7 separate regions of the Homo sapiens genome follow, and regions 2, 3, 4, 5, 6 and 7 are each linked to region 1. Evidence: promoter capture Hi-C in 16 types of primary human blood cells and fetal thymus (Javierre and others, 2016). All regions are on one chromosome and are shown on one strand. Each heading gives the region's core, a stretch centred on a gene start or on the middle of the fragment in contact. The rest is flanking DNA. Distances are from core to core; before and after follow the strand shown. Region 1 holds the start of CEP170 (centrosomal protein 170). Region 2 overlaps KMO (kynurenine 3-monooxygenase). Region 3 overlaps ADSS2 (adenylosuccinate synthase 2). Region 4 overlaps SPMIP3 (sperm microtubule inner protein 3). Region 5 has its middle 14 kb from the start of SPMIP3. Region 6 overlaps LOC105373262 (a long non-coding RNA gene). Region 7 overlaps LOC105373262 (a long non-coding RNA gene).

Region 1 (3,987 bases), core at 1-2,500:
AATGGCATAGAGCTATCCAAGAGTTTCTGCTGTCGCCGGTTGAGAAAGATGCCAAGTTAAGATCAAGGAGTTGATTGAGGTAACTACGGGAATCTGAGGAAACATCGTTGCTTAACTGTAAAAACTAAATCAAACTATTTCATCCTCCTCAAGACCACAGCAACATCCATCTTGCTCCTCTGTAGCGTGGACGGGGCAGAACCCAGGTGTTAGGAAACGCACCTGGTCTGCTCCCGCCCACTAGGCCCTGGGCACCTCGGGGCTAGGGACAGAGGTTTGGAGCAACTCACCCCGGAGACTCCGTTGATACTGCCCCAGAATCTCCTCCAGGGTAGAGTTCTCCGGGGACTTCGCCATGCACGCACTCTAGGCCCAGAGCTGGGAGTTACGTGGGGAAATGTCCAGCTTTCTCCCTTCCGAGAACAACAGGCCTGTGGCCGGGGAGCGCCCGCCTGCTTCCTGCCGCGGCTGTCACAGGGGAGCCTAGAATCCCGCACAGAGCTCTTGGGGGCTCTTCCCACCCACTGGCCCTCGCTTTGCACGTCGGGAGTTGTAGTCCTCACGTTCAGAACCTGCAAGCTCGACAATCCTCAGGGCCTTCCAGTTACACTACAATTCCCAGAAACCACTGCGCTCCAGGCGCTAGCTTGGACGGTTTGGCTGCCAGAGCCTGCTGCCAAGAGACAGGCTTGCAGGCCCCGCCCTTTTCCTCCAGCCCAGCCTGGTTTAGTCCCGCCTCCATCCCACTCTTCAGCTGCCTGGACCACCCAAATGACAGAAAGGGCTCACTGAAGGCCTTGACGCTTCGAAATTTGCTAATATGCAGCAGTTGATCCCCAGGCTACTCAAGGACGCAGATAGTAAACTCTGAACCCTGCTTCAGTTGCGAGATTTTTTAAAACGGTCGAATAAATCTTCAAGAAATAGAAGCTCTAAATCTTCCAAACAGCCTAGATTGTAAAGGCGGCCGACACTACAACTCCTAGCATGCCCAGCAACCGGACCTTCACTTGGAGTTGGCGCTCTGCCCGCTGGGAACTGTAGTCCTTGTTGGTTGCGGTCCCACCTAACGCCGAGGTCCTCTTCATTGTTCAAGCTGGTCTTTCGGGGCACGCCTGCGCAGTGGGCAAGCTGGAAAAGCGTGTGGGTGAGACCCTCGCACAACCCCTTTTCATTGTCTGTGTGTGGCGCCTGCGCAGTAAGGGATCGTTGGAACTGGGCAGGAGGGGATAGGGTCCGGCTCCTCGCCCTTTCCCGAGGCGCCTGCGCACTAGGCAGTCGGTCTTTGCCGTTACCGCTATGTGTGGGGCGTGTGTGGAATAACGTTATTGCCCAGCGGAGCTGAGGGCCCCGGAGCTCGACCGCAGCGGCAGCGACGACAACAGCGGCGACGACGACGACGACGAGGTGGGGGGAGGACGGCGTGCGAGAGACTCACGGGACGCGACGCGCCCCGCCTCCCCCGTCCGGTCCCTCTCTCCACGGTAAGGGGTAAGTGATGCGATCGGCTGCTCGGTGTAGGCGCCGCAGCCGCAGCCACCGCCGCGGCTGCTTTCCACATCCTGCTCCTCGGGTTTGCGGCGAGGACTCGGGCGCCGCCCGCCGCGGGGCGGGGGTGCGGGGCTGGACCGCGAAGGGGGCGCTTCCCGGGTGCTCCGCGCGGCGCCGCCACCCCCACCCTCTGCCCGCCTGGGACCCGGGGCTTGACGGGACCACCCTTCCCATCCCCCACCCGCCGCCCCCCGGAGCTCCAGTCCTGCGGCCCCCCGGCTTTCCCGAGCCCCTTGCTGCCGCCTCCGCATCCCCTAAGTGCATTGAATCATTTTCAGCTTTCGACTGGCTTTGTGCAGCCCTCCCCCCTCCGCCGTAGCAGTTTGCGAGGGGTGCGGGCGGAGCATTGGAGGGAATGGCTGCGCTGCCGCTGGGGAAGGGATTTTTCCCCCATTGGAGCAGCTCCCCGGGCCAATCCCTTTTGTGTGATTGGTTTTGGGGTGTGAGGCGGTTGGCGAGGTCAGGCGAGCAACCTTTTGGACGCGTTGGGAGGGCGTGGAAGACGCGGTGTCATGCACCCTGCCTGGCGACTGCACCCCGTGGAGGCTCTGGCTCTGTAGTAAACCCGGGGGAGGAGAGAGTGGCTTCCTGTCGGCTTCATTGTCCTAGGATTCAGATGTAGGGTTTTGGTACGTTTCGCTTCCATTTTATGCAAGCGATGAAAAAATAACATTTGCAGCTGCCTAACACAGGGCGGGAAGACGTGGGATTTGTATACTAAGTCACAGAATCTCTGTTCGGTGGTGTTTCGTAGAGTTTTATTTATTTATTTATTTATTTATTTATTTATTTTGAGGAATGTAAGGAAGACAGGGACTATGCCTGCTGGAGTCCAAGCACTGCCAAGGTGATCAATATAAAATTACTAGGTGACGTTGGAGCCTGGGCTAGAGAGGGCCTGACAACGAAGCTGTTGTGTCAGGGAAATGAACAAGCAGAATTGTTTTTTCATTGGGCAGGTAATGCATTTATGTTCCTGAGGGAATGGATACATCTTTCCGTTTATTTTTTAAGCAAGTAAAACAAACAAAACAACTGGCCCAGTACATTTCTGTTACCGAAGTTGTTAACTCATTTTTATTCTCTTAATGAAAATTCAGCCATTTGGGAGGAATTTGGCGAAGCAGATGATACATTTGATTGAAAATGCATATTTTAAAATGATTTAATCCTTAAGCTTACAATGTATGCAGCCGTTTGCTGGCGTTGCTTCTTAAAACACACCAGAAGAGAGAATAAAGCAGGATGGGGAGGAGCAGGTGGAGGAATAATGGGAGAGGAGAGAGTGACATTATGACTATAGTATCTGGATCTTCACTGGTATAACCCTAACTGGGTATGCTTCAGAGACTTAGGAATTCAGCTCTGGAAACAGTACACTGATGAATAGCAACTTATGTATTTTTCTGTTATTATTTTTTAAAAAGTAAAACTAGGGCTGCCTTTAGCTCTTCCTAACTTTGTAGATAACACGGAAGAGCCCAAGTGCACTTGACAGAGGAAGACACTAAAACTCAGAAAGTTAACTGACTTGTCTGCCCAAGCCAGACAGTTAATCGAAGGCAGAGCCAAACGAAACTCAAGGTCCATTCTGCAGAGTGATCTTTCCTGTGTCCCCCTAGCCCTTTTACCTTGTGAAAATGTATGGAAAGCTTCTCTATGTGCTCCCTGAGTAGGCTGTGACTATCACTGAACTTGATTCTCACCGTGATTAATCTAGTTCTTGCCTTTGTGATGTAAAAGTAGTAATCCTCCTAAAATGGACCTTTACTTTCATAAAGTAACTTACTACATGAGGAAAGATGTCCTAACATGTGCTTTTCATAAAAACGAAGTGTTGCAGTGTTTTCCCTACTACCTAATGGTAGCTACTTAACGGTAGGTTTTAATATTATTTCTTGAAAATCAATAGTATTTTATAATAGTATGATGATCAACTCTATAGGCTGTGTTAAAAATAAAATTTCCGCATAACAAGAACCTATGATGTTTATTTTGCCACAGTTAATGAGTTGTAATCATTAATGAGTTATTAGTGATTACTTTTAACTTAAACTAGAATTTACATTTTAAGATATATTAACTTTATGTTTTTTATTGGGTTGATTTTGCCATAAAGTGCTTTTTTCTTCCCTTATAATTTTAATCGTTTAATTTTACGTTGCATTTTAATAGACTTCTTTAAAGGATTTATTATTTATCTTAAATTTCAACTTTAAAAATCTGTAACTAAATTTCAGTATGTGGGATTATATTCAATCATGCTTTAAATGTATTTTACTGGTAAATTTCATTGTGTTCTGAGATTATTTTGTATGGAAATAATCTGCCTGTTCCCTATTTTAACATTAGAATAGTGAAATTTATACTGTAAACCTTAGCATACATTCTGCATATTAATGCTGTTATGGTACTTTTTAAAATTCTGTGCTTCGT
Region 2 (3,987 bases), core at 462-2,961, 1.7 Mb after region 1:
GACAGAGTCTCCCTATGTGGCCCAGGTTGGTCTTGATATCTTGGGTTCAAGCGATCCTCCTGCCTTGGCCTCCCAAATTGCTGGGATTACAGGCATGAGCCACTGTGCCCAGACTGCTCCTTTCTTTTTCACTCCAGAAAGCATATCAAACAAGGAAGGACTGAGAATCGTGCTGTTAAAAAGATACCCATGCATCCCATTTATTCTTCATTACAAAGTTCTTGTGATAGGCCTCAAAATGGATCAAGACATGCTGCTGAGAACCACTGCACTAGAATACGCATTCGCGCTCATGGAGCAAGGGTTGTGGGAAGGGGTTGAAAAAGGGCAAGGACTTACATCTCCGTTCTTAGGTGGAATAGTCAACTCCATGTACCCATGAGGAATGTACTGCTGACTGTAATCAAAGCGAGGTTTCTTCATCAGGTGAGATCTGACAGTTGAATAGGCTCCATCACATCCTACAATGAGGTCACAAGTGACATCTTTGGGAACTTTGTCAGATCTGAAAAATAGAACAAAACATCCAAAAGAAAAATATGTCTAGTGGTGAAAATGATGATGTACCTCTGGGTATGAGAAGTAGTGGCTCCATAGATAACTTAGAAAGCTCACTTTCACATGTTTGACTTGGAGCTTTGAGTTAATAGATGTAACATTTAGATGAAAACACTTGTCCCAGTCATAAGTTTGCTTATGAGAATAGCACAACACCATATTGATTAATAAAGACTTGGTAGGCCACAGAAGTGTGACAGGATTTGAGATTTCTGCATGAAGGAGGAGAATCTTGAAAACAGGGCAAGTGTTCCAAGTGTACGAATGAATGTATGAACAACCACAGGATTTTCTAAGAACAATACATTTGTCTTGAGCACAGGTATTAGAAGAAAAGCTTAAGAAAAGAATACAAGGTAGGGAGAGAAAGGAAGGGGAAAAGAAGAGAATCTTGAATGTCAAGATAAAAGATTTTAAAACATTATTCTGGCAAAAGGGAAACTGAAATTATCTATTAGGGGAATGATGTATGAAGAGTTGCAATTTAAGAAAACTTCCTTGGCAGTTTGAAGAGAAGGCCGAATGCCAAAGGGAGCAGAAAACAGGGATGAGGTGATGGCAACACATTATATTACATGTGCAGGAATGAGAGCCGGAAGTACTGTCCTGCAGCTAGAAGGAGGAAGACAGACTCTGAAGCCAGTAGAAAGTAGGATAGACTGGGGAGTGTTATAGATTTAATGGGAGAGGACAGGGGAAAGAACACATCATGAATGATTCAAATTATTCAGGCATTAGTTCTGGGGAAGTCAGGAATGGGATGTGATTTGGGAGAAGTAGGTGATCAAGGTTTTAGATATGTTTGAGATAATGGCAAGATGTTCCAGCAAGGATGTTTGATGAGAAGTTAACATAAATTGATTTGAGCTTCTATAAGGATTTAGAATGAAGAAAGAGGCTTGGACTGGAAATGTTCATCTTAGAGATGTGGTTGTTGAACCCATGAGCGTGGATCCATAGCATATCGCAAGAGTGGGATATGAGGCTTGGAACCTTAGAGGAAATAGAATCATCCAAGGAAAGGCAGAGAAATAGCACCTGGAAAGAGAACAGGAGGAGAGCAGTGGAGGGTCACGTATATTTGAGAGAGGAGAGAGTTTGAAGCACATTAGAGTCACCAGTGTGGAATACAGTACAGTAGGAAGGTGAGCAAGTGTGAGAATTAAGAATTATTGGCATTGGTGTTCAGATGGCCATCAGGGCCTATTTGCAATCTAAAATTCCTTGAATCTAGAAACTATTTGGATGATCCTTTCAATAATCTTTTAACTCTTTCAAAAGAGCCAAAGAACAAAGTTTGCAGATACAATTCTCCACTCCCAGCTTTCACCTCTGAAGTCCAAAACCTGACCCGTAGTTACCCAAGCACTGTGATCATTCCTTCCTCTGGATTACATTTCAACAGCCTGTGGTTAAAGTGCATTTTCACATTGGGGTATTTCTCAGCAGCTGAGGAAATGGAGAAAGAGGCAAACAGAAATGAAATCTCAATTCTTACTTCACTTAATCAAATTGAAATAGTAATTGTTTTCTGGGAACAGTATGGTAGAGAATTTTATTCATAACAATGTAAAAATAAGTTCACTTAAATGGTAATTTGACAACTGTTTGGTAACTATTTCAGTATAATTTGGTAGTAAAACAGATGAATAAAAATCAATTATCCTCATCTCAAAAAGAAAACATCCAACTGATTCCATTGTGCAAACTCTTGCATTGCTGTAATTATTAGCACCCTGGGAAAGAAGCAAGCATCACATATTTCAGAAGTCGCCTCTAATCCGAGGCTTTGTTGTGACTGGAAATATTCAGTCAAACTCCTTTCCTCATATTACGCATGTCTCTATATCTCTTTTTAGCTAGTTTTCTGGAATTCTGATTGAAGTTGTCACAAATAGAGATTGTTGATTTTAAATCTCTTTGAAATCAAACACTGGAATAGTTAGGGGGAAAATGAGTAAGAAGCTTTGAAACCTCTCAATAAACTGAAACAAATTATTTTCGTAATTTTCTGTTTTGCCTGCTAGCACTCTAGAGAATTGAGTGAATTTCAATTTATGAACTATTAATTATGCCCTTGTTACAACAGTAAAATGTGATTTTGTCCCTATTAATGCTCATGTATTCATCTATAAATATAGCCTATTTATTGTTCTTAAAGGTATAAATCAGAATACAGGTGTTAGAGCTGGAATAGACTTCAGAGATGATTTAGTTCAAAATCCTTCATCTTAAAAAAGGAGTAACTAAGATTCTGGAAGTAAAGGTAAAATGCCTGAGATCACACAAAGTGAAAAAATTAAGGACCAAACTCATCAAGTTGTACACATTAATTATGTACAGTTTTTATATGTCAAAAACGTAAATAAAAAGAATGTTGAATTTGAAAAAAATGGGGAAAATAAGGCAGGAGTTCTATTCCTGCCTGTACTTATCTCCTCTCTTCATCTCAATCTTGTCTTATTTTACTCTTTTTTGTTTCAGTTTGATTTGGGGTTTGAAGATTTTAACTTTCTTGCAAAATCTGAGAGACCCTAAACCAAAGAAATTCATCTATGTAGAAGAAGTAGTTTGGCAAATAACTTTGAAGTAATCAGAATTGACCTGATATACTAAGGATATATTTTAGAAACATAACATGTGTTTGTGAAAAAAACTTTTAAAAAATTATGTTTATTTTTTACATAAGTATATAGTATTTTGCATCCTAAATAATTTTTTGTAGAACGTTACTCCTGGGATATACTCCCTAAAAAAACTGTTCCATTGCCAAAGACTAGAGTAATGCTGAATACTCTGTCTTGGGCTATGCTGCCCTGGTGTCCAGCCACAGGTAGTGTTTGAGTACTTGGAGTGTGGCTATCCTAAATTGAGATGTGTTGCCTGTATGGGATTTTGGCAAATTAGAACAAGTATATATAAAAAGAATGACAGTGAATAACTTTCTGATATTGATTACATATTGAAATAATATTTTGGATATATTAGGTTAAAATATCTTTTTTTTTTTTTTGAGACAGAGTTTCACTCTTGTCGCCCAGGATGGAGTGCAATGGCATGATCTCAGCTCACTGCAGCCTCCGCCTCCAGGATTCCAGAGATTCTCCTGAGTAACTGGGATTACAGGCGCCCACCAACACGCCCAGCTAATTTTTATATTTTTAGTAGAGATAGGGTTTCACCATGTTCACCAGGCTGGTCTCCAACTCCTGGCCTCAGGTGATCCACCCCCTTCGGCCTCCCAAAGTGCTGGGATTACAGGTGTGAGCCACTGCGCCTGGCCTAGGTTAAAATATCTTATTAAACATAACACCACCTGCTGCTTTTTTTTTTTTTTAACATGGTTAGCATAAATTGGAAAAGTATACACGTGCCTGGTATTTGTGGCCACATGTTGGACTGTGCTGCTCTGGAAGATCCACAATGCAG
Region 3 (3,987 bases), core at 476-2,975, 1.2 Mb before region 1:
ACTCGGAGGAGTGCTGAACCTCCAACAGTAATTGTGGATTTGTCTGTTTCTCTTTTCAAGTCAGTCAGTTTTTGCTTCATGCACATTGAAGCTCTGTTAGGTACATGTATGTTTACAATTCTGATTTTGATGCATTGAACCTTTCCTCATTATGAAATATCCTCTTTGGTATTAACAACCATAGCTTTTTATGATCAACAGGTTTCCCTGGTACTGTTAGTAGGAAAGTTTTGATGCTGTATATACTAATTAGTTACACTTCAGAAGCTAAATTTGTATTATGTGATTTAAAAGTATCTAATAAGCTATGATTGTTAATACCACAATATCCTTTTTATGGTAATATTCCTTATTCTGATATCTACTTTGATATTAATATAGCCACTAGAGTTGCCTTAAGATTACTGTTTGCATGGTGTATCGCTTTCCATCCTCTAATAATCCTTAGTGTATCTGTGTCTTTAGATTTATAATGTATTTCTTATAGACAAAATGTAGGTGGGTCTTGCATTTTATTCATTGTGACAATTTCATCCTTTAATTGGAATGTTTAGACTAGTTACTTTTACTATAGTTAATTATCACTATGGTTGGATTTATGTCTGCCCTTCGTTTTCTTTTTATTTGTTCTTTTCCTGCTTTCTTTTCGATTGAACATTTTTAATATTATCTCCACTGTTAACTTACTAGCTATACCTCTTGTTTTATGAATTTATGAATTTTGGTAGTTGCTCTAGGGGCTGTAATATGCATCTTTTACGTTACTTGAGTTACCTTCAAATATTTCACTTAGAAGGTTTAAACAGTTGATTTTTTTAAGGAAACTTAAAAATTATTAAGTTGCTGGCCAGTTCTTTACATTAGTATACTAATGCAAGGACCTATTGCATTAACCTTTTGCCCTGTTCACTGAATCTCATAATTCAGTTTGTACTATAAGAGATGCTTTTTCAGGGAAAATGGCCTGAGAAGTGGTTGAGACACTTAAAATTTAAATATGAAATCCAGATTAGTTAGGTGGCTGTTCTTTTATTTAATATCTATGTATTAAATGCCTACTGTGTCAGGTATGGTGCTGAGCACTAAGGATTCAGCAGTAGAAAAAACCAAAAGCATCCCTTAATGGAGCATATCATGTATTAGTGAAAACAAATCATATCAATAGAAATATGTAATCGATGTAGCATGGCATATAGTGCTCAGTTCTGAGGAGAAATAGTAACTCAGAGAAAGGAGCTAGGCAATGGCAGGCAGTTTGGAGGAGGAGGTAGGGGCCTACAATTGTATATAATGTGGCCAGGGAGGTTTCACTGAAAAGTGACAGTTGAGTAAAGACCTCAGGGAGATGTGAGAAAGCAAGCAAAGTGGCTATTACATGTACCAAGTCTCACACCAAGCATAGTATAACATTAATCATATTAATAAAACTTAACTATAATAGTAAATTAAAAATTTAAAAATGCTGTTAATAAACTTAGCTAAAGGTGCACAGTTATGATGGTTTTTTTTGTTTGCAGTATCTAGGCTGTAGAAAGTGAAACAGATATTCCAAGGCTGTTCTTTCAAAACAGTAATAGTGGAGGCATTAATGCTCCATGCCATGGTGAAGTCTTATGAAAGTAATTATTCTGATTACAGTAATTGCTTCCTGGGGCCTAGAAAAACCAAGGAAAGCATTAGTTCTATGACAAGGTACTAAATTAATTTCTGAAAAATATGGTTCACCTGCTTTCCATCAACCATTTATTTGTGTGTTGTCAGTTGCTTTTTTACTTTCTTTGAGCATAGAAAACAAAACATTTACATTCAAATGTCTTTTTATTCAAAAGAAATGAGAATGGCGTACTCTAAGATCTCAGTCTTGTCATGACTGATTTGCAAAATCAGGGTTTAAAACAGCCCTTCAGAACTATTCTGGCCTCTCAAGTAACTGAGAAAGACTATTGCTTGGGCAATAAAATGGGAACATGATGATAAACTAACCCTTATAGCTCAGAATTATTGTTTACATAAAGAGTATTTATTCTTTTTCATTGCTATATAGTATCCCCTTATATGACCATTTCACACTTTTAAAAATCCATTCATTCTACCATTGATGAAAATTTGAGTTGTTTCCAATATTGGGATATTACAAATACTATTACCCTGAGCATTCTTGTAGATAGATATCTTTTGGTGTGCAGTATACTGATATGGCTTTAAAGATGTTACTTTTATCTAACTGTGTGGCACTAAGACAGATACTGCTTACTAGATATTTTTAAATCACACATATTTAGCTTCTGAAATATAACTAATTAGTATGTACAGCATCAAAACTTTTCTACTAACACACCAGGGAAACCTTTGATCATAAAAAGATATGATTGTTAACCTTGCCAAACACAGGGGGAGGACTGCCTTGATAGTTTTAGTAGTGTCTCAAAAGGAGGGAATTAGAGAAGAGTACATACATGGTTTTAGGGGCAGGGTTAATCAGAGGATGGGTTTAGATTGGGTTATCAGACTTTTCTAGCTTCACCATCTATAACTTCAGTATCAGTCTTCTAATAGTTCTAAATAGTTCTTTTACAGATGCTACCACTAATCCCAAGAACCTTATATCAGTCTTTCTGTTAAACATCTACACATTTCAACTTAATTATTTGGAAACAGTGACATCATTAGCAAAAAGAAGCTATGGTTAAATATGCTAAAAATCAGTAAATTGTACATCTTAAATGGATGAATTTTGTGGTGTATAAATTATATTCCCATAAAGCTGTTTAAAAACAAAACAGAAAACAAGAAGCCTTGGTTAGAAGTTCAGAGACCAAAATTCTAGTTTTGCCTCTTCTATAAACCATCTATTTATTGAGTCAGTAAATATTTGAGGACATGTTTGCACCGGAAATCAACTAGTAGGCTGAACTGACATGATCCTAATACTCTCAGAGCATTGGCAGGGGAGAGAGGGAGTACAAGTTATGTGTAGGTGTAGAAAGAGGCAATATTTCATGCAGAAGTACATGCCTTGTAGCTGAGGGCTGCAAAGAATGCCAGTGTGACCAGAGGGCAGTGAGGGTGGCAGAGCATGGTATAAGATGAAAGTGTAGACTGAATTTTGTCTCTTTTTTTAGAGCAGTGGAAAGCCATGGAGTTTTAAGGGCAGGGGAGGTGTGAATGCCATATTTGTGTCTTGGAAAGATGGCTTTGGCTGCATGACAGCATTTGGATTAGAGATGTCTAAGAATGGAAAGAGGTACACACATTAGGAGACTGCAGTTTTGGTGAGAGGTGATGGAAGCTCGAGACTAGTGAGGAAAAGGGAGGTGTCAACATGAGCCCTAGATTCTTGGAGTCCAGAACTTGAAGAAAAAAGAGTATTTTTGTAAATTGACCTTTGTTAAATTTTAGGGCAAGATGTTTCAAAATTACCCTCTTAATGACTTATTTTTTAAAATAGTATAGACTGCAATAAATAAGAACGAAAGATCAGACATTTTCATATTAATGTACTAGTTGGTGTTATAAACTTCTATCATCACTTCTAAAAATGTGTTTAATTTATTATACTGAAATGAGGCTGAAGGGATTTATAACTTCAGTAATTTGAAATGCGGTGGATTTTGCTTTTGTGTATTATCTTTGTTTCAACAACTGTGGTTTTATTTCCCCTCAGTATTTGATTTTCATCAAGCAGCTGATGGTATCCAGGAACAACAGAGACAAGAACAAGCAGGAAAAAAGTATGTGTGGGTTTTTGTTTTTTTGGTACAGTTTAAGCATATGCAGACCTTTATATTTTAGTTCTAGACCAGAAGTTTAAGAAAAATAAGTATTAGAATATCCTGTTTTAGAGAAAATCAGTAGGATTATGAACATATACTTAGCAAGAAATAACATAAACAGAAAATAGTCATATGTAACTTTATTCACTGCAATGATCTGACCAGGAGACCTACATCTTTCTTGTCTGACTTAAAGCTTGTTTGGATTTGTTTT
Region 4 (3,987 bases), core at 458-2,957, 1.1 Mb before region 1:
AGTTTATACATAATTCCATGGGTGAGATATCTAGTACCACAAAGTCCATCTTGAAAGAAATCAGTAAAAATATTTGACATGGTAGAAGGACTATGCATATAGGCTATTTAGGGAAGGAAATACAAGATTAGAAAGGAGCAAAAAGAAATGGCAAGCATAAGGCAAATACACACAGATGTGCTTTTCTTTAAAAACCAAAAGTAAAAAAAAATTAAATAAGTATAAATCAATAAGAAAATAAAAAGCAGGCCGGGTGTGGTGGCTCACGCCTGTAATCCCAGCACTTTGGGAGGCTGAGGTGGGAGGATCACGAGGTCAGGAGATCGAGACCATCCTGGCTAACACGGTGAAACCCCGTCTTTACTAAAAATACAAAAAAAGTAGCCGGGCCTGGTGGCGGGCGCCTGTAGTACCAGCTGTTTGGGAGGCTGAGCCAGGAGAATGGTGTGAACCCGGGAGGCGGAGCTTGCAGTGAGCCAGGATCGTGCCACTGCGCTCCAGCCAGGGCCATAGAGTGAGACTCCGTCAAAAAAAAAAAGAAAAAGCAAAAGCAAAGGTACTGTGCTAATGTTAGCTGGGCATAGTCTCCTGTCTCACTTCATTGTTTTTTTGGTTTTGTTCTGATCAGTTGTGACCCAAGATCCTGTCTCATTTCTTAGTGGGCCTTCCTACCTCACAAGCTTGCAAGCTAAGCACGACATTTCCCAGAGTGCCTCACAACAAGAATCCCGGCTAGGAGTGAGCGCCCTTGCATCGGCTGTACTTGCTTGAGATTTGGAAGGTGGACATTAGGCAGAGGCTGCTGCCTTGATCTTCTCTACTGGCAAGCAAGGTTGTGGAGCATATGGCACTTTTCCAGCGTCTCATCTCCAGCTTTGGGGCATTCAAGAAGCAATTGTTGCGAAGGCAGTGGCTGAAGTCTGTGTCCCAGGGTTCAAATTCCAGCTTCCTAGGTGGCAGAGACAGTGGCGTTGGGAGTAGGTTCTTGAACTCAATACTCCTGGAAGCAGCTTCCTGATCTGGACTGACATAGCTTTACCAGTGATGGGTCAGTTTTGTGGAGATGTTCTAGATGCCTCCTGGGGGCCCCACCCAGAGCCTGTTCTTCCAGCCCTTCTGAGGATTTTTTGTAAGCCATTCATTCTCTATGTTAGCCCCCTTTCTGTTCCCCACTGACCCTAGACTAAACATATAGGTTGTTTCTAGTCTAAAATTTCATATCACATCTGATTGTTTGTTTGTTTTTCACAGGGCCTCACTCTGTCGCCTAGGTTGGAGTGCAGTGGCACAATCGTGGCTCACTGCCACCTCCACCTCCCGGGTTCAAACAGTTCTCCTGCCTCAGCCTCCTGAGTAGCTGGGATTATAGGCACCTGCCACCATGCCCAGCTAATTTTTGTGTTTTTAGTAGAGATGGGGTTTCACACCATGTTGGCCAGGCTGGTCTTGTACTCCTGACCTCAGGTGATCCACCCACCTCGGCCTCTCAAAGTGCTGGGATTACAGGCATGAGCCACCGTACCTGGCCCACATCTGATTATTTACTGGAGAATATGGCTTGCCACAAGCAAACTACTACATTTAAATAATCACATAAAGTGGTGAGACCCCAACTCTATGAAAAATACAACAACAAAAAAAAAAGCCTGGTGTGGAGGTGCATGCCTGTGGTCCCAGCTACTCAGGAGGCTGAGGCGGGAGGATCGCTTGAGCCCAGGAAGCGGAGGTTGCAGTGAGCCAAGATCACACCACTGCACTCCAGCCTGGGTGACAGTGAGACCCTGTCTCAAAAAAAAAAAAAAAAAAAAGTTCACAGGGAAAAGAGTAAACAATGAGAAGGAAAACTGAGTGGCTGGGGGACAAAGGCATACTTTTTACCATTTACCTTAGGAATTTTGCACTCTGCATATCTATTATGTATGCATAGACAGCTGGGCCTATGGTTTGCACAAACATGGCTAGTGGTGTAGCAGGAGAACATCGGACTGAGACCCATGTGACCTGCGGCAGGTCATTTTCCCACTCTCCACATTGATTACAATAGCTCTCTGGAGGGTTGAATGAGGCAAAGATGTGTGCGAGAGTGTTCTGTGTCCTTGAAAACATCTTTGAGAAAGGAGAAATGTGAGTTCCTATTGACAATCATGGATTATGTACCAGGTAACATGTATTAACTCCTATTAGCCTCCCAGCAACCCTACAGAGTTTTACTGCTATTTACTCCCAAGAAAATTGAGGTACTAAGAAGTTAAGTAACTTGTATGAGGTTACCAAGGAACCAGGGCTGGAACCCTCTGGCTGCAGAAATATTTATTTTAACTCTTAGCTCTATCAAAACAATCACAAGGCACCCAGACCATCAGCCAAAACAAAACTAGGACTATTCAGTAACCAGGAGACAGAAAGGACTGGAAAAAAAGAGTGTGTGATGTCTCCTCCTCTTCCCTTTCATAGACAACGGTTAACTCATTGCCTGCCGGCTGGCCAGCTGCTTTATTTCACCTGAGTGTGTTTTTCAAAGCAACTTGAAGATTTTAAACAGCATTACACTATAATGGAATAGTTGGCTATCCAACAGAGCCTAATCATTATATAATGTACTTTTACTGCTGTGATTATTTAAAAAAGAGAGAGAGAGAGAAAGAGAAAGAAGGAAGAAACAATGAGAGAGAAAATCTGAGTAAACACAGCTGAGCTCTTGGTTAATCTGCTAACCCGAACTCCGAAAGCTTCGTGACTGGAGTTTACTTCAGTGGAAGTGACAGGCTGGACAGAAGAATGCCAGGTATTCAGGGCTTTTGAGCTCCTAACAAAGACAGCCCCCACTATCCCTTTGAAGACAGAGTGAGTGCTCAGTGCCTAGAAATTCTGAATCAGTCTTGTAAGGGAATAAATCGGTCATGGGTTGCCATGCTTTTTTAACAAAAATTTTTATTTTTAATTATTATAGATATATAAGAGATGTATGTATTTATGGGGTACATGTGCCATTTTTATATAAGCATACAATGAGTAATGATCCAATCAGGGTAATGCGGGTGTCCATCACCTCAAGAATTTATCATTTCTTTGTGTTAGGAACATTCTAATTCCACTTTTTAAGTTATTTTGAAATGTAGAACAGGCCGGGCGCGGTGGCTCACGCCTGTAATCCCAGCACTTTGAGAGGCCGAGGTGGGCAGATGACTTGAGGTCTGGAGTTTGAGACCAGCCTGGCCAACATGATGAAACCCCGTCTTTACTAAAAATACAACAATTAACTAGGCATGGTGGCGCATGCCTGTAATCCCAGCTGCTTGGGAGGCTGAGGCAGGAGAATCCTTGAACCCAGGAGGCAGAGGTTGCAGTGAGCCGAGATCGAGCCACAGCACTCCAGCCTGGGCAACAGAGGAAGACTCCATCTCAAAAAAAAAAAAGAAAGAAAGAAAAAAAAGAAATGTACGATAAATTATAGACAATAGTCACCCATTGTGCTACCAAACACTGATCTTTTTTCTTCTAACTGTATTTTTGTTCCATTAACCATCCACCGTTTATTCCCTCTTCCCCACTCCCCTTCCCAGCCTCTGCTAACCATCATTCTACTCTCCGTCTCCGCAAGTTCAATTCCTTTTCTTCGACAAGTTCAATTTTTTTTCAAGCTCCCACATATTAGTGAGAACAAGCAATATTTGTCTTTCTGTGCCTGGCTTATTTTACTTGATATAATGTCCTCCAGTTCCCTTCATGTTGTTGTAAATGACAGGATTTAATGCTTTTTTTTTTTTTGAGACGGAGTCTCACTCTGTCACCCAGGCTGGAGTGCAATGGCGCAATCTCAGCTCACTGCAATCTCCGCCTCCCAGGGTGAAGCAATTCTCCTGCCTTAGCCTCCTGAGTAGCTGGGACTACAGGCACCTGCCATCATGCCCAGCTAATTTTTGTATTTTTGTAGAGATGGGGTTTCACCATGTTGACCAGGCTGGTCTTGGAACTCCTGACCTCAGG
Region 5 (3,987 bases), core at 1,019-3,518, 1.1 Mb before region 1:
ATGTCCTTATCATCTCTGAGCTTCAATAGCGTCAATGTTCTTCATGTATGCTGGGGACCAGTTCAGCCTTGCACAACTGCCATGAGGATATAAAAGGAGAAGATGTGGCCCAGGGTCTGGAATTGTGGCTGGGATGCTGAAGTCACCTGGTAAATGTTTGTACATGCTTCTTCTTCCTCAAAGGAGGCTGGGCAGGGCCTCCAATCTAGGAGGCACGGGGGGTGCTGAGCAGTTACCAGAAAAAGGACAAATCCAGGGCCTGACTGACAGTAAGAACCAGAGCATACACTGAGGGAGGGAGGCTCAGTCTTAGGGATAAGCTGGATGCTTGGTTATCAACATCAGGGACCAGACCAATGCTGGACAGCAAATACCACGGGCTGCATGTTGAGTCCCAGAGAGTTGGGGTCAAGGCTGTCACATCCTCCTGCTTCGGATCAGAATGAATCCTAGGACCTGTGCAGGAGTCTAAGTGGCTGAGTTGTGAGGCTGGGTGGGCTCCAACACCCAGGGTGTCAGCTGGGTGGCCCCGGGCCCGGGCTTCCTCTTGGCAGACTCTCTCTCCTCAGTGCATGGACGTACTGTTCTAGCAGCCTGCAGAGAAATGACAATTGCCTCGACCAGAGGGCTAAGTGAGGGTGCAGTGCCGTGCCTGCAAGACACCTCACCTTAGACTGGTTCCTCTGGGAGCATCTCCTCTCTTGTTTGATTGAAATTTGACCCGTCTTCTGGAGAGACAGAGTTTTCAACACAATTCATTAATTTAGAGATACAATTATATCAAAGTGGCTGGGCACAGTGGCTCATGCCTTAATCCTAGTGCTTTGGGAGACTGAGGTGGGAGGACTGATTCCAGCCGGGAGTTCGAGAGCAGCCTGGGCAACAAAAATAAAAAACTAGCTGGGGATTGTGGCACATACCTACAGTGCCAGCTGCTTGGGAAGCTACGGTCGGGGGATCCCCTGAGCCCAGGCGTTTGAGGCTATAGTGAGCTCTGATTGCAGCACTGCACTCCAGCCTGGATGACAGAGTGAGACCCTGTCTCAAAAACGAAAACAAAAACCAGAAAAAAAGTCACATAAAAGCAAAGTGCGTGCCTGCAATCACCTTCACAAGAGAGTTGAATGTAACCTCAGAGTTGCCTGGTAACCATTGTAGAACAGACAGGGCCAACCCCAGCAAGTGGGCCTCCCCTCCTGACCTCCCCGGCCCTTCTCTTCACTCCTCTGAGCAAAGTCAGCATCCGGGAGGGAAGCTGGTGTTAGTCCTCTGGATCCTGATGGAATCTCCCAGGGAAGCCAGCACTGTAGCATCAACATTTGTGACCAACATAATTGTAGAGGCACCGCTCATCTAACGACCAGCAGCAGAAGTGCCATCCAGAGGCTGTGATCAGAGATCTGTCTCCAAGAGTCACTGATAGTTTCCCAGAAAGGAAGGTCAGAGATGAAAGAGCACAGAGTGATAATGGCACAGATCTGGACCTGGTGGTCCGGCGGGGTTGCGGGGTGATCCTATTGCACTCTCACTGTCTTAAAATTATTGACTTTCTTGTTCATCATTTGCAGAAGCCAAACTCCACATCTTGTAAACTCCTATGCACCCAGACTTAACACAGAAGCAACAAATGTTAACAGGCTACAGGCAAGTGGAATTAACATTGGGCAGAGATTTTAGTGTGGAGATTCCTTAAAGAACTAAAACTACCATTTGATTCAGCAATCCGACTCTTGGGTATCTACCCAGAGGAAAAGAAGTCATTAAGCAAAAAAGATACTTGCACACACGTTTATAGCAGCACAATTTGCAATTGCAAAATCGTGGAACCAACCCAAATGCCCATCGATCAGCAAGTGGACAAAGAAACTGTGGTGTATATATATATATGATGGAATACTACTCAGCCATAGAAAGGAATGAATTAACGGCATTTGCAGCCATGTGGATGAGATTGGAGACTATTATTCTAAGTGATGTAACTCAGGGATGGAAAACCAAACACTGTATGTTCTCACAGATATGTGGGAGCTAAGCTATGAGGACACAAAGGCATAAGGATGATACAATGGACTTTGGGGACCTGAGGGGAAGGGTGGGATGGAGGTGAGGGATAAAAGACCACAAATAGGGTGCAGTGTTTACCCCTCGGGTGATGGGTGCACCAAAATCTCACAAATCACCACTGAAGAACTTAGTCATGTAACAAAATACCATCTGTTCCCCAATAACCTATGGAAAAAAAAAACAACCACTGGGCAGAGTTTTGGTTCCCTGCCCATTATTCTTGCATTCAGTCATATTAAGCCACCAGGAAATCTTTGCCCACAGAATCACAGAAAATAGGGCTGGACAAACCTTGGAGACCATTTGGTTAAATGAGTAAACTGCTTAAGACCATAGTAAAATTACTCCATCCATTCAGAGCTTACTAATGGAGCATGCTGGGCATGGTGCTAGTTGCTGAGTAAACCGTGGTTACAGCATAGGCCGCTGGCAGATCTAGAGAAAAACCTTACTTCTATTGACGCTTGGTCTTTTCTTGTTCATACCTCATGGGAAGGTCAGTGACCCCTATCAGGGTCCATCTAATATGTTTTGCAAGAATAATTTTTTTTTTCTAGATAGAGTCTCACTCTGTCACCCAGGCTGGAGAGCGGTGACATGATCTCGGCTCACTGCAACCTCTGCCTCCCGGGTTCAAGCAATTCTCCTGCCTCAGCCTCCCAAGTAGCTGGGATTACAGGCACACACTGCCATGCCCAGCTAATTTTTGTATTTTTAGTAGAGATGGAGTTTCACCATGATGGCCAAGCTGGTTTCAAACTCCTGATCTCAAGAGATCCGTCCACCTCGGCCCCCCGAAATGCTAGGATTACAGACGTGAGTCACCGCGCTTGGCCTGTTTTGCAAGAACAATTTAAAAAGATTCTCAGGGCAGGAAAACCACTTTTGCCTGTTGTGAGTGAAATGGCCGGCAAGAAACCAGGAAAGGAAAGAGAGGAAGGTTGGAAAAGTTAGGAAGTCTTTGAGGCAGGGATCAGAAAACGTAGATGCTCCAGGAGCCTGGCAGATATGCATAAGTGAGCGGACGTGGTTAGTGACCACAACAGGGGTGCCCTGCAGGGGTCGGAGGTCATCTAACCCTGCCAGAGGGAGCGGCTGCCACTCAGCTCTGAACTCTTGGTGCGTGTTGTGGGACTATGGCCTAGTGTTGCCAGGTCTTCCCATATTTCAAGAGAAACCAGATTTTTAATGGGAACTTTCTCAAATTCTAGTGCACTGAGCAAGCTGAACAAAACATGGAGTTACATTTATCTTATCAGCCATCGGTTTTCAACCCTGTGAATTAAAACATTTAAAAAATTACTTAGATGCGTCAAACAAAAACAAATGGTTACCTCTCCGCTTCTTTAATTCCATTTTGCCTTTCCTGCAGTGTTACTTCCTTTGCTTTAAAAAGGCCCCCAAGTCCATTATGCACAATAATGTAATTGAAAGTTTTCATTTGGTAGTAGAGCTCCACTCGCACAAACCATTCCAGGTGGTACCTGAGGGACGCCTTCAACGTCCAAATATACGAGGCCTCAAAAGCCAAGGAAAGCGCACCTGGAGGAGATGTGTGTCCACCTGGGCAGCAATGTCTTTTCCTGCTGTTTTCTCCTAAGGTTCCCGCATTGTCTCTTCGGCAAAGAGAAATCGTACCCTTTTCATGGACTAGGACACTTCAGCTGATTGAGCAACACCTCTCAGCCTTGGAGCCCGGCACTCCCAGCTGGTCACCAGGCCTCCCAGGGCTGAGGTGTGGTGGAAGGAGGGTTGGGGTCTGGGAGAGGTAATCCTCAGGAACAGGCGTGGCCCTCAGCAGCCAAGCAGAAGAATGGGGCTTGCAAACGACTTCAAAGATTTTAAATATTTGCAGAAACTTAATCCATTCCTTATTCGTGAAGCTAAAAGTATTTTTTAAAGTACCTTTTAGTTACAGCTGTG
Region 6 (3,987 bases), core at 383-2,882, 1.1 Mb before region 1:
TGTGGTGGTGGATACCTGTAATCCCAGCTACTCAGGAGGCTGAGGCAGGAGTGTCACTTGAACCCAGAAGGCGGAGGTTGCAGTGAGCTGAGATGGCGCTGCTGCACTCCAGCCTGAGAAACAGAGCGAGACTCCATCTCAAAAAAATTAAAATAAATAAATAAATAATAAATAAAAAGGTTGAATATCCTCTCCTAAATGTAGACTGGGCCATCAGAAAATACACTTTCCATAATCATGGAGTCATAGAAGAGCATGTTAGACACAAATTTTTTTCTAATTTTTTAAATTTTTTTGAGACAGAGTCTCACCTCAGGCCTCACCCAGGCTGGGGTGCAGCAGTGGCGTGATCTCAGCTAACTGCAACCTCCGCCTTCCAGGTTTAAGTGATTCTCCTGCTTCAGCCTCCCGAGTAGCTGGGATTACAGGCACACACCACCACATCAGGCTAATTTTTGTATTTTTAGTAGAAATGGGTTTTCACCATGTTAGCCAGGCTGATGGACGCTACCTTATAATCAGCTGGTCCATCCCCCTGTGTTTTAGAGACAGAAACCAAGGAAACAGCAGTGACTTGCCAAGGTCACAGAACTTGTTCTTCTGAATTAGATTCTATATTCAATGCATTGAAAGTTTGTGATCAAAAGTCAGAGTGAAGTAGGGATTTGCAAATAATAAAAACTGAGGTGCAAGAGCTTTTTTTAAAATAACGCTTTTTTTTTTAAAGAGACAGGGTCTCACTCTGTTGCCCAGGCTAGAGTGCAGTGGCACGATCACAGCTTACTGCAGCCTCCAATTCCTGGCCACAAGTGATCCTCCAGTCTCAGCCTCCTCAGCATGTACCATCATGCCTGGCTAATTTTTATTTTATTTTATTTTTGAGATAGGGTCTTGCTCTGTGTCTCAGGCTGGAGTGCAGTGGTGTGATCTTGGCTCACTGCAGCCTTGACCTTCCCGGCTCGAGTGATCCTCCCACCTCAGCCTCCCAAGTAGCTGGGACTAGAGGCATGCACCACTATGCCAAGCTGATTTTTGTATTATTATTTTTTTTAGAGGTGGGGGTCTCACTATGTTGCCCAGGCTGGTCTTGAGCTCCTGGGCTCAAACAGTCCACCTGCCTCAGCCTCCCAAAGTGCTGGGACTACAGGCATGAGCCACTGTGCCCCACCTCACGTTTTATTTTTAGTTTTTTGTAGAGACGGGGTTTTGTTGCTCAGTCTGGTCTGGAACTCCTGGCCAGCCTCAAGCAATCCTCCCACCTCAGCCTCCCAAAGCACTGGGAATACAGGCATAAACCACTGCTTATGGTCAAAAATAACACTTTCATGTATAATTTTCTCATTAGAAATTTGTCAAATCACACCTAGAACTGAGAACACCACCGAGCCTCTTCAGGGACTTAGAAATCAGGGAAACCCCTGATGTGTGTGAATATACATTGGCCTGCGTCCTGGCCGGGGAAGGCAAGTTTAAGTTTTCAGAGGATTTGTAGGTTGGATGTCATGATTGCCTTCCTCAGGGCTGTCATTTCTTAATGTCTTTTATATTCTTCTTCTCATCTCCCTTCTGCACTGAGTCAGGGCCTCTCTCATGGAGCAACAGTCTTCCCACAGAGAGTAAAGTCATCACAGTGGAGGCTTGCTCAACCTTTACAAATTCTAAAACCACAGGCCAACATTAACTTCCTCCATTTCTCACCGGAAATCAACATGGCCACCACCATCGTGCCTCATCCTGCTCCTCTTGGACTGTAAATCATGGCTTGTTCATTGTAAGCCGTCAATTGCATGTTGTTTCAGTTGTCTGCCAACTCAATTCTATCAGTGTGTTTTGACTGATAGAATTTTGTAAACTCCCTTTTACATTTATTTGTATTTGACGAGATGGTTTGATTTTGTTGAGCTGTCTTCCTCTTTGTTATCCCTCCTATCACAGTTCTTGGAGCTCACTACCCCTTTTCAGATTGTCATGGGCAGGCAAATTGCTGGTCCCCTCGCCTTGCAAGGTCCTTTGCATAACCACACAGTTTTCACTTGAAAAGACAATAGAGTTGCCAGATAAAATACAGGCCCCTGCAAGATCTGGAACACACTCTGCACGATGCCATGCAGTATTTGGGATATACTTATGCCAAAACTTGTTCATTATTTATGTGAAATTCAAGTTTAATTTGAATTAAATATTGGCACCCGTATTTTTATTTGTTAAATTTTTATTTGTTAAATATTTGTTAAACTTTTATTTGATATACTTATGCCAAAACTTGTTCATTATTTATGTGAAATTCAAGTTTAATTTGAATTAAATATTGGCACCTGTATTTTTATTTGTTAAATCTTGCCACCCTCAAGTACAAACGCCTCTGTACCTCAGAGGCATAAGAATGTGCAAATGGGATTCATGCAACTCACAACCTAGACCTCCCTCTCTTTTCTATCTTCAAAAACCAATGTTCTTTTACTGTTAAGAACCTTGGGAGAGAGGGAAATCACAAGGTAGTCTTAAGCAGATTACTACACTCTTGTAGTGATAACATTTAATTAAAAAATTGATTTATTTTTCTTCTGACTTAAAAGCAAAATGAAACAAAACAAAACAAAACCCCAAACCACAAACTCAGGCCTCCTCTCTGGGCTTCCCTGCACACAGGCTGATGTTAACTGCACTGAGCACCCTGGGAACATCAGTCCAACTGCAGGCACTGGAATCGCTGTAGACCATGACGGACAATGGCTCCCATACACACAGTATTCCAGTCTTGGGAGTGAAAATGGCCCCGTGCAGCCTCACGGCCCATGGGTTTAGGCTGAACTTTGAGACCATTTCTTTTTATTCACACCTGGGATGGCCTAGCCCAACTGAAACCAAGCAACCTGGACGCCCTATCAGTGGCTGTGAAATCATAGGCCAAATTCCTCTGTGGCAAAGACTTCCTGTAAAAAATACCGTTAAGGCCTAGCCAGGTCCGAAATGAATAAATGAATAATCATTGATTATTGATCAATGCTTTTTAATCAGTGCCCTCTGTGAAAAGGAACTATCCCTCCCCACAAAACTCTTTTATGAATAGAACCAGAATGGTTGAAGGGTGGTTTCATTCTTTTTTTTAAGAGATGGGGTCTTGCTGTGTTGCCCAGGCTAGTCTTAAACTCCTGGCCTCACGTGATCCTCCTGCCTCAGCCTCGGCCACTGAGCCTGGCTCATTCACTTTTTACCTACTTTTGGAACCTCAAATGGTAACTAACTTACCAAGTGATTGGCATAGCTACCAAGGTGAAATGTTAAATTTAATGCAGTGTCACATCGTTCTTCCAGATTCGTGGTGAGTAGGATTATCCAACAATCCCTCTCATGTATTTCTTTCTTTTTTTTTTTTTTTTTTGAGATGGAGTCTCGCTCTGTTGCCCAGGCTGGAGTGCAGTGGCACGATCTCGGCTCACTGCAAGCTCCGCCTCCTGGGTTCACACCATTCTCCTGCCTCAGCCTCCCGAGTAGCTGGGACTACAGGCACCCGCCACCACGCCCGGCTAATTTTTTGTATTTTTCATAGAGACGGGATTTCACCGTGTTAGCCAGGATGGTCTCGATCTCCTGACCTCGTGATCCACCCACCTCGGCCTCCCAAAGTACTGAGATTACAGGCGTGAGCCACCGTGCCTGGCCCCTCTCAAGTATTTCTAACCAAAATGATCAACCTTCTGTACCCTGAACTTACAGATTCTGTTCTAAAGTCAGTGTGAGAATTATTCCATCTAGGTTAGTACATTTGTCTCTAGAAAAACGACCCATGGGGAGACAGTGTTCCCCATGCCATTCCTTGCCTTTTGGGCCCACCACAAATCCTGATATTTAAGGCCCTTAAGTTAAATAATTCTGCCATGAAGCATGAAATGTAAGTACAGCTTAAATAATCATAAAAGAGAGACTATATGTCCAAGCAGGCAGCATGCACCTTGATGGGTGATGAGTACGTTAAGATAAATCATG
Region 7 (3,987 bases), core at 822-3,321, 1.0 Mb before region 1:
ACTAATTCAAGGACCTCCTTGTGGCTGGGCGCGCTGGCTCACGCCTGTAATCTCAGCACTTTGGGAGGCTGAGGCGGGCGGATCACGATGTCAGGAGATGGAGACCATCCTGGCTAACACGGTGAAAACACGTCTCTACTAAAAATACAAAAAATTAGCCAGGCGTGGTGGCGGGCGCCTGTAGTCCCAGCTACTCGGGAGGCTGAGGCAGGAGAATGGCGTGAACCCGGGAGGCGGAGCTTGCAGTGAGCCGAGGTCGCGCCCCTGCACTCCAGCCTGGGCCACAGAGCAAGACTCCGTCTCAAAAAGAAAAAAAAAAAAAAAAGAACCTCCTTGTAAGTCAGCCTCTCCCAAAGGAGGACATGGAGGGCCAGGCTAGTCCTAGAGTCTCTAGCAGGGCCACTTCCCTGAAGTTTTGTTCCTTGCTGGCTTAGCCCAAATAAACAGACCACTCTTCCTGTAGCGCTAAAAAGTCACTCGATGGCTTTCTGTTTCAGATTTGGTTTCAGAAGGGTTTTGTCAGCTTTCTGTAAACTGCGTCTGTAATTGAGGCCGGCCGCCTCCAGGTGGCACCAGTGTGCCGTCCCACGCTGAGTCTGCTCTGAGAATCAAGACGTTTCACTACCGCCCAATTCATTTGAGGAACTACTGCCAAGATGCATCTTCCTAACGATTTCTCTGCCCAGAGCCCTTCAGAGGCTTCCTGTTGTCTGCTAGATAAAGCCAAGCTATCAGTGCTCTCAGCCTGAGAGCAAGCTGAGATGCAGTCTTGTCTGAGTCTGCAGGGTGGTGGGAGAAGAGGCATGGGGCTTTTTGGTTGCAGTAGAGGGAGGAGATTGTTTGAGAAATGGGGGGAAAGAACTGAAACAACCAAAACAATGAGAGTGAAAAGGAACCACGACACCAGTGTCATGGACTTGTGTCTCTGCAGAGAAGCAGGGCATGTCGAAACTGCAAGCTTTTCGTTTCTCTCTCTCTCTCTCTCTCTGTCTCCTTTTTTGGAGTCTCGCTCTTGTTGCCCAGGCTGGAGTGCAGTGGTGCGAGCTCACCTCAATGCAACCTCCGCCTCCCGGCTTCAAACAATTCTCCTGCCTCAGCCTCCCGAGTAGCTGGGATTATAGGCGCCCGCCACCATGCCCGGCTAATTTTGTATTTTTAGCAGAGACAGGGTTTCACCATGTTGGTCAGGCTGGTCTCGAACTCCTGACCTCAGGTGATCCACCCGCCTCGGCCTCCCAAAGTTCTGGGATTACAGGTGTGAGCCACCACGCCCAGCCTAAAACTGCAAGCTTTTCACACAAGACCCAGGACTTACATTTTTTAGTGCTCACTAACACAAGTAATAAAATGTGACACAGAGGGAGGGAGGGAGGAGAGGGGCTTTCTCCTCTACCTTTACAAGAAACACAGTGAAACCGCTTTGCAAAAATTAGGTCAGTGAGAGAACTATGGCAGTGAGGGAGATCTGATCTAGCCAACCCTCATCTTGCCTTTAGCCTTCAAGTTGCCATTAATTGTTAATATTTCTGGGTGTAGGCCAAGCTAACTTTGAGAGTTAAATGATAATAGCCCTTTCCCCAAAGTCAGCTGCTTTTGTAAAAGTAATGAGAGACCACCAGGCTAGCAGGGTAGAGGAGCCTGAATTCTGCTAAGGTGTAGACATAAATGATTGCCAACCATTATTCTGCAGGTCATAAGATTTGCAACCTCCCAGATTACTCCTGCAGATAATATCACCGTTATAGAGCCTAAGATTGGCCTTTGGGATATCTTTTCAGTCTTTTTTTTTGATGTCTGACACTCATGCCTCCACCTAGACCCACTGACCCCTCCTGTGGCCCCACCCACAAAGGACTCAGGCACAGGAGGACCATTTCCCACACCCCTATGATTGCACCCCCAGCCAATCAGCAGCAAGCACCCATTGCCCAGACACCTCCATCCCTTCTCCCAAACTACCCTTCAAAAACTCCTAACCTCTGAGCCTTCAGTGAGGTCGATTTGAGTGATAACTCCATCTCCCATGTGGCATGACTGACCTCGAGTCAATTAAACTCTTTTTATTTTTTTGAGACGGAGTGTTGCTGTGTCACCAGGCTGGAGTGCAGTGGGGCGATCTCAGCTCACTGCAACCTCCACTTCCAAACAATTACTCTATCTCAGCCTCCCGAGCAGCTGGAACTACAGGTGCGCACCACCACACCTGGCTAATTTTTGTATTTTAGTAGAGACTTGGTTTCACCATGTTGGCCAAGATGGTCTCGATCTCCTGACCTTGTGATCTGCAATGCTGTGGTCTCTGTGAATGGATTTTGTTTGTGTAGTGGGCAGGAAGCACCCATCGGGTGGTTATAACAGCATGACTCTAGGCTTGCCACACAGCTGTGACGGTGGCACACAGCAGCCCTCAAATGGCTTCACAAGCAAAAAACAACAGAGGGGCCCAGGGCCAAGGAACGTGAGAGAACTCTTTATGAGCTTAAACGACAAAACCCAAGATCCCCGAAACACTTGGAGAGGATTTTGCAAAGTTAGATCTCCTCTATCAAGGATGTTGGGATAAGAGTCAATGAAATAGAATTTTGGTGGCTGCTGGGGGCCCATCAGCACCTACTAGCTGGAGAGCCAGAGTGGCATGTATTTCATCTTCCCGGGAGGTTTTATTACTGACATTACTCCAGAACCTCCTTATAAATTGGCCTCTCCTGGACACTTGCTCTTTTAGGATTAAAAAACAACTTTGTTATTATTCTCTTTCTACCACTGCCTTCAAATAAAGCTATTTTTCTCCATTCCTGGACAATCTCTTGGACGAGGGCTACAACTCAGTCAGGCACAAAAGTACCAAGCTTTTGAATATTGGAATCGCCTCACTTTTCAATCTAAGGACAGAGCTTCAGTCTTTCAGCCAGTTCATTGCTGCTTTTGCAGCCGTATCTTCTATCACTTTTTTTATTTTTATTTTTTCAAGTGAACACTTAATTTTCCATCCATTTCTTTTCTTCTTTCTCTCTCTCTCTTTTTTAAAATTAATTAATTAATTAATTTTTTTTGAGGCAGTCTCACTCTGTCACCCAGGATGGAGTACAGTGGTGCAATCTCAGCTCACTGCAACCTCCACCTCCTGGGTTCAAGCGATTCTCATGCCTTAGCATCCTGAAGAGCTGGGATCACAGAAACATGCCACTGCACCCGGCTAACTTTTGTATTATTATTATCATTATTATTATTATTATTTTGGTAGAGGCAGGGTTTCATCACGTTAGCCAGGCTGGTCTCGAACTCCTGACCTCAAGTGATCCACCCACCTTGGCCTCCCAAAGTGCTGAGATTACAAGCATGAGCCACCGTGCACGGCCTCCATCCACTTCTGAGAGTGACATTGCAGTGTTTGAGCCAAGATTCCAGTCTTTGGGCCTACATATACTATCTTCCCCTTCCTGCTCCCAGTCCTCAGAGTTTCCTGTTTGCTTTTTATTTCTTTTCTTTTCTTTTTTTTTGTCTCAAGATCTGTTTGTGGACTCCAGAGCTTCCTTGTTTCATTGGGAGGCCGTGTGGTAAGACGTGAAGACACAGGATGGGCATGTTGCTGATCTGGCGATTCCCTGCTAGCCCTGTGTCTTATCTGCTGTGTGACTGAACAAATCACATGTCCTCCACGATCTTGGCTCCTTTACCTAAGGAAGGGGAATAATGCTGTCTCTTCCACGGCTGTGAGATTAAATGACACAGAACAGGTGACTGCGTGATGCAAACTTCATGTGACTATTCGGATATTAGGAATATCCTAATATCCTTTTTTTCCTTGCCATTTTGTTCTCACTCTCATTAATGACCAGAGGAAAAGGAACTATGGAAAGAGCCTTGAGGAGTGTGGGAAAATGGGGCAAGCATTTGTATTTTTATCTCTCTGACTTTTCCTGGGATTTATGGGATTTCTCACATCCCCACCGGCAACGTGGGGGCGGTTTGCTTTCTGTAGAATGG

What was found. The method cuts DNA at HindIII sites, captures the fragments that hold promoters and counts their contacts. A CHiCAGO score of 5 or more calls a contact.
Region 2: a contact is called between a fragment that was not itself captured here and the fragment with the promoter of CEP170 in region 1, in 1 of 17 cell types (M0 macrophages). The highest score is 5.4, in M0 macrophages.
Region 3: a fragment that was not itself captured here is called in contact with the fragment with the promoter of CEP170 in region 1 in 1 of 17 cell types (neutrophils); the score reaches 11.1 in neutrophils.
Region 4: a contact is called between a fragment that was not itself captured here and the fragment with the promoter of CEP170 in region 1, in 1 of 17 cell types (M0 macrophages). The highest score is 8.0, in M0 macrophages.
Region 5: a fragment that was not itself captured here is called in contact with the fragment with the promoter of CEP170 in region 1 in 2 of 17 cell types (neutrophils and M1 macrophages); the score reaches 5.1 in neutrophils.
Region 6: a fragment that was not itself captured here is called in contact with the fragment with the promoter of CEP170 in region 1 in 2 of 17 cell types (neutrophils and monocytes); the score reaches 6.7 in neutrophils.
Region 7: a fragment that was not itself captured here is called in contact with the fragment with the promoter of CEP170 in region 1 in 10 of 17 cell types (fetal thymus, M0 macrophages, non-activated CD4 T cells and 7 more); the score reaches 13.0 in fetal thymus.

The regions. Positions count from the first base shown.
Region 1 is chr1:243,252,544-243,256,530 of GRCh38, reverse strand. It overlaps CEP170 (centrosomal protein 170), which reads left to right and starts at 1,250. Exons shown (of 20, transcript NM_014812.3): 1 at 1,250-1,491. SDCCAG8 (SHH signaling and ciliogenesis regulator SDCCAG8) reads right to left here and starts at 490. Exons shown (of 18, transcript NM_006642.5): 1 at 291-490. The coding sequence starts at 357. The HindIII fragment of the contact is 10,208 bases long and covers 1-2,730 here.
Region 2 is chr1:241,558,685-241,562,671 of GRCh38, reverse strand. KMO (kynurenine 3-monooxygenase) reads right to left here. Exons shown (of 15, transcript NM_003679.5): 6 at 1,920-2,007; 7 at 340-505. Among named protein-coding and RNA genes, the nearest start is that of KMO, 28 kb to the right of the region's middle. The HindIII fragment of the contact is 1,628 bases long and covers 898-2,525 here.
Region 3 is chr1:244,424,065-244,428,051 of GRCh38, reverse strand. It overlaps ADSS2 (adenylosuccinate synthase 2), which reads left to right. Exons shown (of 13, transcript NM_001126.5): 5 at 3,665-3,731. Among named protein-coding and RNA genes, the nearest start is that of ADSS2, 26 kb to the left of the region's middle. The HindIII fragment of the contact is 4,493 bases long and covers 1-3,971 here.
Region 4 is chr1:244,360,665-244,364,651 of GRCh38, reverse strand. The region is part of intron 1 of SPMIP3 (sperm microtubule inner protein 3); the gene reads right to left. Among named protein-coding and RNA genes, the nearest start is that of SPMIP3, 10 kb to the right of the region's middle. RefSeq lists an enhancer at 2,133-2,958. The HindIII fragment of the contact is 2,049 bases long and covers 683-2,731 here.
Region 5 is chr1:244,336,481-244,340,467 of GRCh38, reverse strand. No RefSeq gene overlaps it. Among named protein-coding and RNA genes, the nearest start is that of SPMIP3, 14 kb to the left of the region's middle. The HindIII fragment of the contact is 5,430 bases long and covers 1-3,987 here.
Region 6 is chr1:244,317,469-244,321,455 of GRCh38, reverse strand. The region is part of intron 1 of LOC105373262 (a long non-coding RNA gene); the gene reads left to right. Among named protein-coding and RNA genes, the nearest start is that of SPMIP3, 33 kb to the left of the region's middle. RefSeq lists an enhancer at 1,515-1,924. The HindIII fragment of the contact is 7,427 bases long and covers 1-3,987 here.
Region 7 is chr1:244,296,216-244,300,202 of GRCh38, reverse strand. All of the region lies in intron 1 of LOC105373262 (a long non-coding RNA gene), which reads left to right. Among named protein-coding and RNA genes, the nearest start is that of SPMIP3, 54 kb to the left of the region's middle. RefSeq lists an enhancer at 412-481. The HindIII fragment of the contact is 1,560 bases long and covers 1,292-2,851 here.